Linked DNA regions of Homo sapiens: regions 2 and 3 are each linked to region 1. Evidence: promoter capture Hi-C in 16 types of primary human blood cells and fetal thymus (Javierre and others, 2016). All regions are on one chromosome and are shown on one strand. The core of a region is centred on a gene start or on the middle of the fragment in contact, and the rest is flanking DNA. Distances in the headings are between cores, read along the strand shown. Region 1 holds the start of TTYH3 (tweety family member 3). Region 2 overlaps CHST12 (carbohydrate sulfotransferase 12). Region 3 overlaps CHST12 (carbohydrate sulfotransferase 12).

Region 1 (4,914 bases), core at 999-3,498:
GGGGGGAAGCAGGAGGTCTGTTTGTGGCCATGGGAGCTGCTGCTAACAGCAGGAACCAGAAACGATCTCAGGCCATGAGGACAATTTCTGCAGCTGGCCAGGGACTGCCCTGTTCATCCCTGGAGTTATGCGACACAGAACTCTGAGGTCAGAGTCAGCCCAGGGCACGGGCCGTGCAGGCGATCCCCTGGCTGTGGAGATGAGGTCACAGGCTGGATGCTGGAGCAGTGTCAGGCTAGGAGTGGGCGTCCTGCCTAAGCCACCTGTTCACAGTGAGCAATCAGCTGGCGCCAAAGAAGAGGACTCACCTGGCCAGGTACCAGCCCACTCCAAGTAGGTAGCCTTGGTCTTAGGGGGTTGGGGGGGGCTTCATTCTGCCTGGAGCTCCCACCATCCTTGGCATTGGAGAGAGAGGAACCTGAGCCAGTATCCCCACCCCACCCCAAATTTCTGGCTCTTCGGCCTTTAGGGATGGAGAATGCGACCTCCCCCCTTCTGCCTGGCTGTTATTTCCCAGCTGGGTGGTGTCTCCAAGTTATCCAGCGGGTGGAAACCGCAGCTCAGCTAGTCCCTCTTGCCCGGTGCCCTATCACAGGAAAACAGGCGAGTCAGGGCAGTCAATGAGCCAAAGTCCAGGCCTCCTGGGAAGACACTGCCCGGAACCGTCCCTGCCTGCAAAGAGCTCTTCCTGCCAGGAACGGCCTGCCTGCCCACAGAGCTGGCCAAGTCGGGCACAGCAGATGGTGGAGCCCGGGTGTGGAAACCTGTTTCTCAGTACACAGGAGGTCCAGGAATAAGGCCCCAGGTGATGAAGCAGAGCCAGGATGCACCCACTGCCCTAGAGTGCGGAGGGAGGCGTGCACCTGGGCCCAAGCACGCACTATGTCCATCCTCCTGGCTCTGGCAGCTCCCATCTCCCCTTTAGCAAAGGAGGAGGCACAGGCATGGGGAGGCCCTGTTAGGAAATTTGGCTGTGTGGCTCCAAAGCCCATGATGGGCCCTCTCTGGCAGGTGCCTGAATTTTTAGGCCCCAGGACACCAGAACAGGGCACCGTCTTCATCTTAGGTCTTGACAAAAGACTCAACCTTCCCCAGAGGGAAGGCCGGATGGGGACTGAATCTACCTGCGGATCCACTTAACACTCGTACCTTTTTAAAAAAAATTTTTTTTATTTTTGAGATGGAGTCTCACTCTGTTGCCCAGGTTGGAGTGCAGTGGCGCAATCTCCACTCACCGCAACCTCCATCTCGCAGGTCCAAGCAATTCTCCTCCCTCAGCTTCCAGAGTAACTGGGATTACAGGCGCCCGCCACCACGCCTGGCTAATTTTTGTATTTTTAGTAGAGACGGGGTTTCACCATTTTGGCCAGGCTGGTCTCGAACTCCTGACCTCAGGTGATCCGCCTGCCTCGGCCTCCCAAAGTGCTGGGATTACAGGCATGAACCACCACCACGCCCTGCCAACACTCGTAGCTTTATCATCCCCTTTTACAGACAAGGACACCGATGCACAGAGTGGTTAAGTAACTTGCCCCAGATCACACAGCTCTAGGTGCCCCAGCCAGGCCCTGAATCCAGATCATGTCCATTGTACAGATAGGCCACTCGGTGCCTTGCTGGGCGCTGCGGGCTGTGGGCTGTTGTGTGTGCAATGGGGAGGCCAAGACCAGCCCAGCCCACCAGGCCGGACCCTCGAGTCAAATAAGAAACATGCAAAGATCCAAACGAAGAGCGAATTCATGGAATGAAGCGCAGCTGCATATGCAGCCAGGGTTCCAGCCCCCACGGCCACGTGGAAAGACTGGCTGGCCCGGGTCTTACAGCGCTGAGGGTCGGTCTTCCAGCGCCTTAGGGGCCAGGCGTCCCTCCAAGAAGGCGAGGAAGTAGGCGGAGCTTCTGCCGGCGGACTAATGACGGTACAGAGGCGGGGCCGAAGGGCGGGGACACGTGGAGGGGCGGGGCCATTGGGTAATGGGCGGGGATGCGAGTGGAGGGGCAAAACCATCAGGTAAAAGGACCAATAGAGGTTCAGGAGCGAGTGGGCGGGGCACGCTGTGGGGCGGGATCGGCGGGGGATAGACCAATGGTGGGTAAGAGGCGGGACAGAGGGCGGGGCGCGCGGGGGCTGGGCTGGCGGGAGGCGGGCCAATGGAGGCTCGGGGGCGGGGCCGGCGGGCGGACGGGCGGGGGTGCGGAGGGGGCGGCGGCGGCGGCGGCGAACAAAGAGGCGGCGGGCGCGGGCGGCCGAGCGGAGCCGAGCGCAGCCGAGCCGGGCCGAGCCGGGCCGGGCCGGGCCCAGGAGCGCGCGGATGATGCGGGCGGCCAGGCGGGGGTCGACGGGTCCCTGAAGCCCGCGCCCCGGGCCAGCAAGGGAGCCCCGCGCAGGCCGCGCGCATCCGGAGGCGGCCGGGCCCCGCCATGGCCGGGGTCAGCTACGCGGCGCCCTGGTGGGTGAGCCTCCTGCACCGGCTGCCCCACTTCGACCTGAGCTGGGAGGCCACTAGCAGCCAGTTCCGGCCCGAGGACACCGACTACCAGCAGGTGACATGGGCCTCTCGGGGTCGCGGGGTCAGGGACCCCAGGTCACGGCCCCCTCCTCTCCCAGGGTCACGGCCCCCATCCCCGAGGGCCTAAAGACCCCTCATCCCCCCCTCCAGGGTCACGGCCACCTCCTCCTCGCAGGTACCGGCCTCCTTCCTTCTCGAGGGTCCCTTCTGAGTCCTAGGACCCTTTCTTCCAGGGTCATGGCCTCCTCCTCAAAGGTCTAAATACCCTCCAACCCCCAGTGAGGGTCCACGGCCCCCCTCCCGATTCTGGCCTTCCCTTCTGGTGTCACTAAGGCCCCTGGGTTTCATGGAGCTGCCTCTCCCCACTCCGTGAGCCCCCTTGGCCAGTGGAGGGCCTCTCCACCATCACTGTTGGCGGCCTGGTGCTGTGTCCCAGCAGAGACCCCTCCCCAGATGACCCCCAGGCTCTGAGATCAGAGCGGGTGCCTGAGCACATTGGGTGCAGGCAGGCAGAGACTCCTCGCCCACTCACCCCCGACTGGGGAATCCCACTGCCAGGCTTCCAGTGGGTGAATGGCCTGGGCCGCCGCCAGCCCTCTGTGGCCGGTAATGACCCCCTGCTTGGCGGTCAGGCTGTGGGATGTACACAGGGTGCCGTGTGTGGCCGTGGGAGACCAGGCTGCCTGTAGCCCCCGGGGGAGGGAGGCCCGGCGGCCAGGAAGCACCGTGGGCCTCAGGCAGGGAGGCTGGAAGCGGCTGAGCCCAGGCAGACCTGGGGGGCGGCTGGGGGCCCTTTGCAGCCCTCTCCCAGGGGAGCCCTTAGCCTGGCATCATGCCAGGCCCCAGCACCACCCCCATCGCCAAGCTACTGTCATTTGAGTGCGGGGCAGGGGACCAAGCTGTGGGCATTTCCTTCCTGCCTAGAGATCCGGATTCCAGAAGCCCCGTGACCAGGGTCCCTGGTCACCCGGAGTTTCTCTCTGGACGGATCATGGCAGAGCCCCATGGTGGGGTGGGGATGGCTTTGCTTATCAAAATGGCTTGGGAATCCGGTATTCCGCGGGCAGCCTAGCACCTGGACTCTTCAGAACTGCGTTGTCTGTGGCCTCCCGCATCCAGAGGAGGGAGGCGGAAGTGGAGGAGCAGGGCACCTGGGAGCCCACTGCTCCCAGCCTCGCGCTCACTTGCACCCAGGCCCCCCAGCCGAGCCGATGACGTTTCCTAACAGATGAGGAAGGGGGCGAGGGATCGGCCCAGGCACGCCCAGACACAGCAGGGAGGAGGGAGGCGGAAGGATTGGTATAAAATCTCACGCCTGCGTTCTAGAAGCCCAGCCCTGGGGGACCGTTCAGTGTGGGGGCAATGCACATTCAGGAACTTCTGGAACTTATTCCATGCTGATGGCTTTGCCACTTGTCCCTGGAGGACTCTGTTGAAGCTGCAAGGAGGGTGTGCTTCACTTTGGAAAGTTCTCTGCCCTGAGGGTTTGGCCCATTTGTCAGTTCTTAAGCTCCGGGGCAGCCCTGGGGCGTGGGGGGCGGCTGTTTCCTGCTGCCCCTTGGGCTGCCACCTGCCCGAGCTGCCAGCCACAGTTGGACTTCCTTCCAGCCCTCCGGGGTGCCTGCATTCCCACATTCGAGACAGGCAGTGAGAGGGAGTGAGGGGCGATGATGTCTGCAGCCCACAAGAGCCTCCGGGCAGTAGCCAGGCCCCTCTGCTCAGCCTGACCTGCCTGGCCTCCAGCAGGGTGCTATGGCCCTGGGAGGCCCTGGCTTCTGCCCCCTTTCCTCCCCTGCCCTGCGCTCTGCTCTGCTGTGGGAGGGCTCTGACTCACTCTCTCTCCTGCCTCATCTCCACAGAGCAGAATTAGCCACTGAATAATTCACGATGTGGAAACCGGCCTGCCTCCATCCCCCGCCGCCTCCACTCCCGGCTCTTGGCGAGGGGCTGTGGCGTGAGCTGGTCCTGGCGTGCGTCCTGCCCCTGCCCTTCCAATACTGGTGCTTTTCGGCAACTGCTTGGTGTCTCTGAGCCTTCATTGCCTCATCCTGAATCTGGGCTGGCCGTGCCTCCTGTGTAGGGTCACCCCTGGGAGGCAAGGGCCAGGAGCCCCCTTCCTGGGAGAATGGGCAGTGGGTGGGCCTGGGCTGTGGCAGGCGCCCCTTCCTGCCTCCCCTGGTGAGGAGTTGCTGGCTGTAGTGGGGGGTGGACCCCTCACCCATCCTGACTGAGGGCTCCCTCTTAGCTGTCTCTGTGCTGCCCCAACCTGGGCTGTGCCCTGCTGGGGAGTGGGCATCTGCCCCGTGGTTATGGGGGCGGGGGGATGGAGGGGAGGTGGGGCCTGGGGTTGGGAGTTGGGGGTGTGGCACGGGGGACTGGCCTTTGTCCTTTGCTATTTCTGGCCCCC
Region 2 (4,914 bases), core at 892-3,391, 210 kb before region 1:
TGATGTGTTTTGGAAGCAGGTGGGATCATGACCGCAGTGCTCAGCCCAGCGGTTCTATCGGACCCTTCCCTGAATGCTTCTCTCCTGCCCAGAAGGTAGCAAAAGTCACGTGGGCTTCAGGCCGGAGCTGTGTCAGTCACTGGGCCAGACATTCTTGTATGTCCAAGCTGTTGTTTCTGTTGCTGTTGTTGTTGTTTTGTTTTTTGGGATGTGGTCTCACCCTGTCACCCAGGCTGGAGTACAACGGCACAATCATAGCTTACTGCAGCCTTGACCTCCTGGGTTCAAGCCATTTTCCCACTTCAGCCTCCAGAGTAACTGGGACCACAGGTGTGTGCCATCATGCCCAGCTAATTTTAAAAATTATTTGTAGACATGAGGTCTCACTGTGTGGACCAGGCTGGTCTTGAACCCCTTGGCTCAAGCAATCCCCCTGCCTTGGCTTCCCAAATTGCTGGGATCACAGGCATGAACCACCATGTCTGGCTGTCCAAACCGCCTTTTAAAATTAAAACTTGGCTGGGCGTGGTGGCTCATGCCTGTATTCCCATCACTTTGGGAGGCCGAGGCAGGTAGATCACTTGAGCCCAGGAGTTCAAGACCATCCTGGTCAACATGGTGAAACCCCATCTCTACTAAAAATACAAAAATTAGCCAGGCGTGGTGGTGCACACCTGTAACCCAGCTACTCAGGAGGCTGAGGTGGGAGGATCACTTGAGTGGGGAGGTTGCAGTGAGCCAAGATCACGCCACTGCACTCAAGTCTGAATGATAGAGTGGAACCCTGTCTCCAAAAAAAAAAAAAAAAAAAAAATGGCTGGGCATAGTGGCTTACGCCTGTAATCCCAGCACTTTGAGAGGCCAAGGCAGGTGGATTCCCTGAGGTCAGGAGTCCGAGACCAGCCTGGCCAACATGGTGAAGCCCCGTCTCTACTAAAAATACAAAAATTAGCCAGGCATGGTGGTGGGAGCCTGTAATCCCAGCTACTTAGGAGGCTGAGGCAGGAGAATCGCTTGAACCCGGGAAGCAGAGGTTGCAGTGAGCTGAGATTGTGCAACTGCACTCAAGCCTAGGCAACAAGAGCAAAACTCCGTCTCAAAAAAAAAAAAAAAAAATTACCATTGTAACCATTTTTAAGCATGCAGTTTGGTGGTGTTAAGCACGTTCACATCACTCTGCAGCAATCACCACCCTCCAGCCCCAGAACTATGTTCATCTTGTAAAACTAAAGCTCTGTCCCCATTGAACACAAACTCCCATCCCCCTCCCCTGCCCCCACAACCACCATTCTACTTTCTGTCTCTAGGAATTTAACTGCCCTGGGAACCTCATACAAGTAGAATCTTGAAATATTTGTCTTTTTTTTTTTTTTTTTTTTTTTGAGATGGAGTCTCGCTCTGTTGCCCAGGCTGGAGTGCAGTGGCACGATCTCACCTCACTGTAAGCTCTGCCTCCCGGGTTCATGCCATTCTCCTGCCTCAGCCTCCAGAGTAGCTGAGACTACAGGCGCCCGTCAGCATGCCCGGCTAATTTTTTGTATTTTTAGTAGAGACGGGGTTTCACCGTGTTAGCCAGGATGGTCTTGATCTCCTGACCTCGTGATCTGCCCGCCTCGGCTTCCCAAAGTGCTGGGATTACAGGTGTGAGCCGCCACACCGGCCAAGTATTTGTCCTTTTGTTTCTGGCTTATTTCACTGAGCATAATGTCTTCAGGGTTCATCCATGTTGTAGCATGTGTCAGAATTTCCTTTCTTTTGAAGGCTGAGTAATATTCTACTACATGGGTTGACCACAGTTTGCTTGTCTGTTCATCTGTCGCGAACACTTGGGTTCCTTCCACCTTTTGGCTATTGTGAATGATGCTGACATCAGTGTGGACATGGGTGTGCAAGCATCTCTTCAAGACCCTGCTCTAAGTTGAGTGCAGTGGCTCATGCCTGTCATCCCAGCACTTTGGGGGGCCAAGGTGGAAGGATCACTTGAGGCCAGGAATTCAAGACCACCCTGACAACATAGCAAGATGCCATCTCTACAAAAAATTAGCTGGGCATGGTGGCAACCACCTATAGTCTCAGCTACTCAGGAGGCTGCTTGAGCCCAGGAGTTCAAGGCTGCAGTGAGGTTTGATGGCACCACTGCACCCCAGCCTGGACAACACAGTGAGACCCTGTCTCAGGAAAAGAACAACAACCTTGCTTTCAGTTATTTTGGGTGTATACACAGAAGTGGAATTGCTGTATCATATGGCAATTTTATTTTATTATTATTTTTTAAGACGGAGTCTCACTGTGTCACCAAGTCTGGAATACAGTGGTACAATCTCAGCTCACTGCAACCTCTGCCTCCTGGGTTCAAGCAATTCTGCCTCAGCCTCCTTGAGTAGCTGGGATTACAGGCGTGAGTCACTGCACCTGGCCCCTCATATGGTAATTTTATATGATAATTCTGTGTTAATTTTTTTTTTTGAGACAGAGTCTCACTCTGTTCCCCAGGCTGGAGTGCAGTGGTGCCATCACAGCTCACTGCAACCTCCATCTCCTGGGCTCAAGCGATCCTCTTGCCTCAGCCTCCTGAGTAGCTGGGACTGTAAGTGCACACCACCATGTCCTGCTAATTCTTTTTTTTTTTTTTTTTTTTTTTACATTTTTTTTGTAGAGAAGGGTCTTGGTATGTTGCCCAGGCTGGGATGCAGTGGCAACATCATAGCTCACTGCAGCCTCAAACTCTTGGGCTCAAGCAATCCTCTCACCTCAGCCTCCTAAGTAGCTGAGACTACAGGCACACACTACCATGCCTGGCTAGTTTTTTAGTTTGGTTTTTTTTTTTACTTTTTTTTTTTTTTTTGAGACGGAGTCTCGCTCTGTTGCCCAGGCTAGAGTGCGGTGACGCGATCTTGGCTCACTGCAACTTCCACCTGCCAGGTTCAAATGGTCCTTCCATCTCAGCCTCTCAAGAAACTGGGATTACAAGTGTACACCACCATGCCAGGCTAATTTTTTTATTTTTAGTAGAGACAGGGTTTTGCCATGTTGGCCAGGCTGTCCTCAAACTCCTGAGCTCAAGTGATCTGCCCACCTCAGCCTCCCAAAGTGCCAGGATTACAGGCATGAGCTACTGCGCCCAGCCTTTTTAAACATTTTTTATAGAGATAGGGTCTTGCTATGTTGCCCAGGCTGGTCTTAAACTCCTGGGCAGTTCTCCCGCCTCAGCCTCCCAAAGTGCTGGGATTACAGGCATGAGCCACCATAGCTGGCCCTAAAAGATATTATTAATACTTAGTTATAATCCTAAAATATTTTCCTTGTAATTAAACTGAAATCTTATTAAATTATCCATGAAAAGTCATAGGTTTTATAAAATGATGTAGTCACTGGCATTGGTTGTATATATGTAATGCTTCTTGGCTGAAAAATAAGCAGAAGTGCTTAGGTTGGCTCAGTAACGCCCTTATCTAGTTCTTAGGTACAGAATTCGTGGACGGCGGCAGCATCCCTGGCCTCTGGCGTCTGCCTATGTCGGCGATGTGACTGACTCCCCTGCAGCTTCACTCTCCTCGTTAGTCTTCATCTTAATTGGCAACTTCCCTCTCAAGTTGTTTGTCATGTTAACTTTTCCCCTTTGCTACTTTCTTTTTCTTTCTTTTTTTTTTTTGAGAGGGAGTTTCCCTCTTGTGGCCCAGGCTGGAGTGCAGTGGCGCCATCTCGGCTCACTGCAACCTCCGCCTCCCAGGTTCAAGCGATTCTCCTGCCTCAGCCTCCCGAGTAGCTGGGATTACAGGCATGTGCCACCATGCCCGGCTTATTTTGTATTTTTAGTAGAGACAGGGTTTCTCCGTTATTGGTCAGGCTGGTCTCGAACTCCTGACCTCAGGTGATCCACCCGCCTCGGCCTCCCAAGGTTCTGGGATTACAGGCGTGAGCCACTGCGCCCTGCCTCTTTTTTTTTAGATGGAGTCTTGTTCCGTCACCAGGCTGGAGTGCAGTGGTGCGATCTCAGCTCACTGCAAACTGCGACTCCCGGGTTCAAGCGATTCTCCTGCCTCAGCCTCCCCAGTAGCTGGGACTACAGGCACACACCACCACACCCAGCTAATTTTTGTATTTTTAGTAGAGACAGGGTTTCACCGTGTTGGCCAGACTGGTCTCGATCTCTTGACTTTGTGATCCACCTGCCTCGGCTTCCCAAAGTGCTGGGATTACAGGAGAGAGCCACTGCGTGCAGCCCTGCTTTGCTGCTTTCTTAGCCTTCAGAAAACCTTTTTTTTTTTTTTTTTAGTGTGGTTTCATTCACTGTCATCTGAAGAAACTGTTGATTGTTACACATCCTCGAGAGGGGTGGTCCTGAAAACTTGAACAGCACAGGTACTTAGGATCTAGTTTTAAAAATAGGCTGCAGTGGCTCACGCCTGTCATTCCAGCACTTTGGGAGGCTGAGGCACTTGGATCACTCGAGGCCAGGAGTTAGAGACCAGCCTGGCCAACATGGAGAAAGCCCCTCTCTACTAAAAATCCAAAAATTAGCCGGGCATGGTGCGTGCCTGTGGTCCCAGCTATTTGGGAGGCTGAGGCATGAGAATCCCTTGAACCTGGGAGGTGGAGGCTGTGGTGAGCCAAGGTCACACCACTGTAGTCCCGCCTGGGTGACAGAACAAGACTCCATCTCAAAAAAAATAAAAAAAAGTAGAAAAATAGGCTGTAAAATCGTGTGGTTATAACCGTTCAGAGGGTATTGAAAGCTGGTACAGGACTGCATGTTCTCGTCCCACTCACACCCTGAACACACTGGGAGGGCAGGTGAGGAATGCGGTGGGGGCCATGGAGAGACAGCAGCGGGGGCCGTGGAGAGACAGCAGCAGGCCCTCTGATGCTCACGTTTTCGTGATTTCTGTAGTGGGGTCATTGCCTTTCTCTGGT
Region 3 (4,914 bases), core at 1,543-4,042, 190 kb before region 1:
ACTCGCTTCAGCTGATTTGGGTTGGATTTCTAGCGTTTCACATACAGGATCTAGACTCGCACACAACTGCATTAATATGTTGGTGTTTGATAAACTAGGGTTGAAGGAGTTCCATCAGTGAAGAGAGAAGCCACGTGACCTGAGGATGCAGGGCACTGTTCACGTGGACATGAGCCGTTTCTTAGCATCATGAGATTTTAGAAACATGTTCTTACTCTGCCAGGACCCAGGGATAGGTGAGGCTCTCCTATTGGGATACCATTTCACCAGCAGAGAGATTAATTGGAGAATGTGTAATTTTTTCCCCTTTGGAAATAATTTGTTCTTTTTTTTTTTTGACAGAGTTTCTTTCTGTCATCCAGGCTGGAGTGCAGTGGTGTGATCATAGCTCACTGCAGCCTCGACCTCCTGGGCTCAAGTGGTCCTCCCACCTCAGCCTCCCAAGTAGCTGGGACTACAGGCATGCACCACCATGCCCGGCTAATTTTTACATTTTTGGTAGAGGCCGGGTACGGTGGCTCATGCCTGTAATCCCGGCACTTTGGGAGGCCGAGGTGGGTGGATCACGAGGTCAGGAGATCAAGACCATCCTGGATAACATGGTGAAACCCCGTCTCTACTAAAATACAAAAAAATTAGCCGGGCGTGGTGGTGGGCGCCTGTAGTCCCAGCTACTCGGGAGGCTGAGGCAGGAGAATGGCGTGAACCCGGGAGGCGGAGCTTGCAGTGAGCGGAGATTGGCGCCACTACACTCCAGCCTGGGCGACAGAGCGAGACTCCGTCTCAAAAAAAAATTTTTTTTTTTGGTAGATACGGGGTCTTGCTTTGTCACCCAGGCTGGTCTCAAACTCCTGAGCTCGAGTGCTCCTTCTGCCTCAGCCTCCCAAAGTGCTGGGATTACAGGCGTGGGCTGCTGTGCCCAGCAGGAATAATTTCTCAGTGCATCTCTGATGGGGAGGCTAATGAAGAAAGGACACCTGGTTTGAAGGCTTCTCTGTGTCTGTCCGTGGGCGCTACTGATCTGAGCCAAGCACCATTCCGCAGGCATGCCTGAAATGACTCCCATGGCTGTCATGGTGCCATCTGGAGAGCATTTGCTCACTGTAATGGTCCCGTCACACTTGTCTGATGAGGATCTGTTGGTTGACTTTGACAGTGATAAACGAACACAGCCTATCTGGGTGTTTTTTGCACTTATAGTTTGGGGGTTTGAAGTACTGGCTAGAAGCTGGCGGGGTGTGTGTGTGCAGGTGTGCGAGTGCATGTGCAAGTGTGCGTGCAAGTGTGAGTCTGCACTTGTGTGCAAGAGAATGTGTGTGTGTGTGTGTTTGGAGATTTGGACTTGAAAATTCTAGCTCAGGTCTTTGGGGTAGTGTTTGACCTGAACTCTGAAAGGCAGAGGGTCCCAGACTTTCCTGGGATGATGGGAACTGGGCACCCCAGATGAGGCTCGGTTGTGAGTAGGAGCGGGGTGGGCCACCGAAGAGAAGACAGAGTGGGCCTGTAGGGCCAGCCCGAGGTACCCACAGTGGAGGGTCTACAGGCTGATTTGGGAGGTGGTGGTTTATACCTGTAGTCACCTTCTATCTTAGTTAGGAATTCACCTTCACACTTCCAGAAACTGCCAAGAAGAATGCCGCCGCTCAGGTTTATCTGGTAGAATAAGCTGTTTGAACAAAGATCTGGAGGTTGCACAATCCTGTGTCATTCTGGATTTATCTTGGGGTCGGGAGTCAACGATACTTCTTGTGCTGTCGTTTCTCCGGCCGTGTGAAGTTACCACCTCGTGAGTGGTCATAAGTTAGCGTGTCTAAATGCACTTTGAAATCCTAGGATGAAAAAGCCAGGCCCTGTCTTTTTTCCTTGTCTAAGCACCATCCTTGCTTAGGAGAGACACGGCTGTGGCTCTCAGGCTGTGGGGCAATGTTCTGCTTATAATGTTTCAAGAGGTTCAAAGCGTGCAGGCCCCATGCTCCGTGAGAGCCTTGACCTGGGTCAGCAGGGGCGGCTGGGCTTGACTCGAGAATTCCCACAGGGCCCGAGGGAAGAGCAGAGCAAGAGGGAGGAGCGCGTGGAGCCCTATGTGGCCTGCGATATTGGGGTGGCGTCCAGGCCCGCCTAGATGGGGGAGGGAGACAACAGAGCTGCCACCTGCTCACCGCAGACCCAGGGGCCCAGGAGGAGCGGACTAGGACCGGCAGTGCCTTCCAGCCTAGGTCTCCTGCCCCTGGGCTGGAGTTCATCTTTTAGGCAAATTTGGAATAGGAACCTTAAAAATGCTTTCTTCACTCGTTTAAATAGTAATGATAAGAATATGGCTGCAGGGGGCAGCTTATGCCTGTAATCCCACCATTTTGGGAGCTCAAGGCAGGAGTATTGCTTGAGCCCAGAAGTTTGAGACCAGTCTGGGCAACATAGTGGAAACTTGTCTCTCCAAAAGCTAAAAGAAAAAGCCGTGCATGGTGGTATGCACCTGTAGTCCCAGCTACTTGGGAGGCTGAGGTGGGAGGATCGCTTGAGTCTGGGAGGTCGAGGCTGCTGTGAGCCATGATTGCACCACTGCATTCCAGCCTGGGTGACAGAGCAAGATCTTGTCTTAAAAAAAAAAAAAAAAAAAAAGGTGTTGTATTTTATCATTAGAAGGCCATCCTGTTTAGAAGAGTGGGTTTCTCATAAGAAAAAAAAGAAAAAGGTTGACCTTGTAAGTATATTTTCTTGGGTGAATTGTGGTGGTGGTAATGGTTTTAACTGGTGTTAATTTCAGTTCTTTTAAAAGTTGTGGTAAGATACATGCAACATAAAATGTGCCCTCTTCCCCATTTTTAAGTGAACAGTTCAGTGGCATTAAGCACATTCAGTTTGCCTGCCACCGTTACCACCATCCATCTCCAAAATTCTCTCCATTTACAAAACTGAAACTCTGTCCCTATTAAACACTAGCTCCCCATTCCCCACTGTGCCGCCCCCCCAAAGCCCCTGGCACCAACCATTCTACTTCCTGTCTCTGAGTTTGACTAGGGACCTCCTGTAAGTGGATTTGTACAATATTTGTCCTTTTGTGTCTGGCTTCTTCATGTAGTATAATGTCTTCAAGGTTCATTCATGTTGTAGTCAGGATCACCTTCCTTTTAAAGGTTGAACGATATCCCGTTGTATGGACAGACCACATTTTATCCATTCACCCAGGGATGGACACCTGGGTTGCTTCCATCTCTCGGCTCTTGTGAATAATGCTGCTGTGAACACGGGTGTGCAGATACCTGTTCAAGTCCCTGCTGTTTTCTTTTGAGACGGAGTCTCGCTCTGTCTCCCAGGCTGGAGTGCGGTGGCACCATCTCAGCTCACTGCAAGCTCCGCCTCCCAGGTTCAGGCCATTCTCCTGCCTCAGCCTCCCGAGTAGCTGGGACTACAGGTGCCCACCACCACGCCTGGCTAATTTTTTGTATTTTTAGTAGAGACGGAGTTTCACCATGTTAGCCAGGATGCTCTGGATCTCCTGACCTCGTGATCCACCCACCTCGGCCTCCCAAACTGCTGGGATTACAGGCATGAGACACCACGCCCCGCCGAGTCCCTGCTTTTAATTCTTTGGGGCAGGGATCCCCAACCCCCTGGTGATGGACCAATACTGGCCTGCGGCCCCTTAGGAACTGGACTGCACAGCAGGAGGTGAGCGGCAGGTGAGCGTGCATTCCCGCCGGAGCCCCGCCTCCCGTCAGATCAGCGGCGGCATTAGATTCTCATAGGAGCGGGAACCCTCCTGTGAACCCTGCATACCAGGGTTCTCCATGCAACAATCTAATGCCTGATGATCTGAAGTGGAACAGGTTTTTGTTTTTTTTTTCCAGACAGAGTCTTGCTCTTTCGCCTAGGCTGGAGTGCAGTGGCATGATCTCGGCTCACTGCAACCCCTGCTTCCTGGGTTCAAGTGGTTCTCCTGCCTCAGCCTCCCAAGTAGCTGGGATTACAGGTGCCCGCCACCATGGCCAGCTAATTTTTTTGTTTATTTGTTTATTTATTATTTTTTGAGGTGGAGTCTTGCTGTCACCCAGGCTGGAGTGCAGTGGTGCAATCTCAGCTCACTGCAACCTCTGCCTTCTGGGTTCAAGCCATTCTTGTGCCTCAGCTTCCCGAGTAGGTGGAATTATAGGCGTGTGCCACCATGCCCAGCTAATTTTTGTATTTTTAGTAGAGGCGGGATTTCACCATGTTGGCCAGGCTGGTCTCACTCTTGACCTCAAGTGATCTGCCCGCCTCGGCCTCCCAAAGTGTTGGGATTACAGGTGTGAGCCACCGTGCTCAGCCTGAAGTGAAACAGTTTCATCCCAAAAGCATATACCTCTGCCCCATCCATGGAAAAATTGCCTCTCATGAAACCAGTCCCTGGTGCCAAAAAGGTTGGGGACCGCGGCTCTGGAGTATATGCCTAGGAGTAGGAGTGTGGGGTCATATGGTAATTTATCTTTAATTTTTGGAGGAATTGAATTTCAATTCTTATTATTACCAAAAATACTTAAAATTCTTACAGATGGCATGGGAAAGTAGCACACAGTCGGGACTCTGCAGCCGAGTTTGCCTCCTTGAATGCACACATAACACAGGAACAAAGACAGAGCTGCTTCCCTCCTGTTGGGTCTCTGGCGGACAGTCAGGTATGCTGAGGGAGACACTGTTCTCAAACTCCAGGCCAGGGTGGTTTCCGGAGGGTCCACCGGTGGTCTCATCTCTTCTCTCTCAAACCATGGATGGTGCCTTTTAAAGAAAATGACACCGGCCAGGTGCGGTGGCTCATGGCTGTAATCCCAGCACTTTGGGAGGCCGAGGCGGGTGGATCACCTGAGGTCGGAAGTTCAACACCAGCCTGGCCAACATGGTGAAACCCCGTCTCTATTAAAAATACAAAAATTAGGCCGG

The links. Contacts are between HindIII fragments. The CHiCAGO score rates a contact against its expected background, and 5 or more counts as called.
Region 2: a fragment that was not itself captured here is called in contact with the fragment with the promoter of TTYH3 in region 1 in 1 of 17 cell types (neutrophils); the score reaches 8.7 in neutrophils.
Region 3: a contact is called between a fragment that was not itself captured here and the fragment with the promoter of TTYH3 in region 1, in 1 of 17 cell types (monocytes). The highest score is 5.9, in monocytes.

The regions. Positions count from the first base shown.
Region 1 is chr7:2,629,738-2,634,651 of GRCh38, forward strand. It overlaps TTYH3 (tweety family member 3), which reads left to right and starts at 2,249. Exons shown (of 14, transcript NM_025250.3): 1 at 2,249-2,541. The coding sequence starts at 2,419. RefSeq lists enhancers at 1,674-2,405, 3,138-3,870, 3,650-3,759, 4,603-4,914 and a silencer at 2,190-2,599. The HindIII fragment of the contact is 11,109 bases long and covers 1-4,914 here.
Region 2 is chr7:2,418,610-2,423,523 of GRCh38, forward strand. The region is part of intron 1 of CHST12 (carbohydrate sulfotransferase 12); the gene reads left to right. Among named protein-coding and RNA genes, the nearest start is that of CHST12, 17 kb to the left of the region's middle. The HindIII fragment of the contact is 7,524 bases long and covers 1-4,914 here.
Region 3 is chr7:2,439,095-2,444,008 of GRCh38, forward strand. CHST12 (carbohydrate sulfotransferase 12) reads left to right here. Exons shown (of 2, transcript NM_018641.5): 2 at 1-4,914. Among named protein-coding and RNA genes, the nearest start is that of GRIFIN, 35 kb to the right of the region's middle. RefSeq lists an enhancer at 3,532-4,032. The HindIII fragment of the contact is 6,535 bases long and covers 1-4,914 here.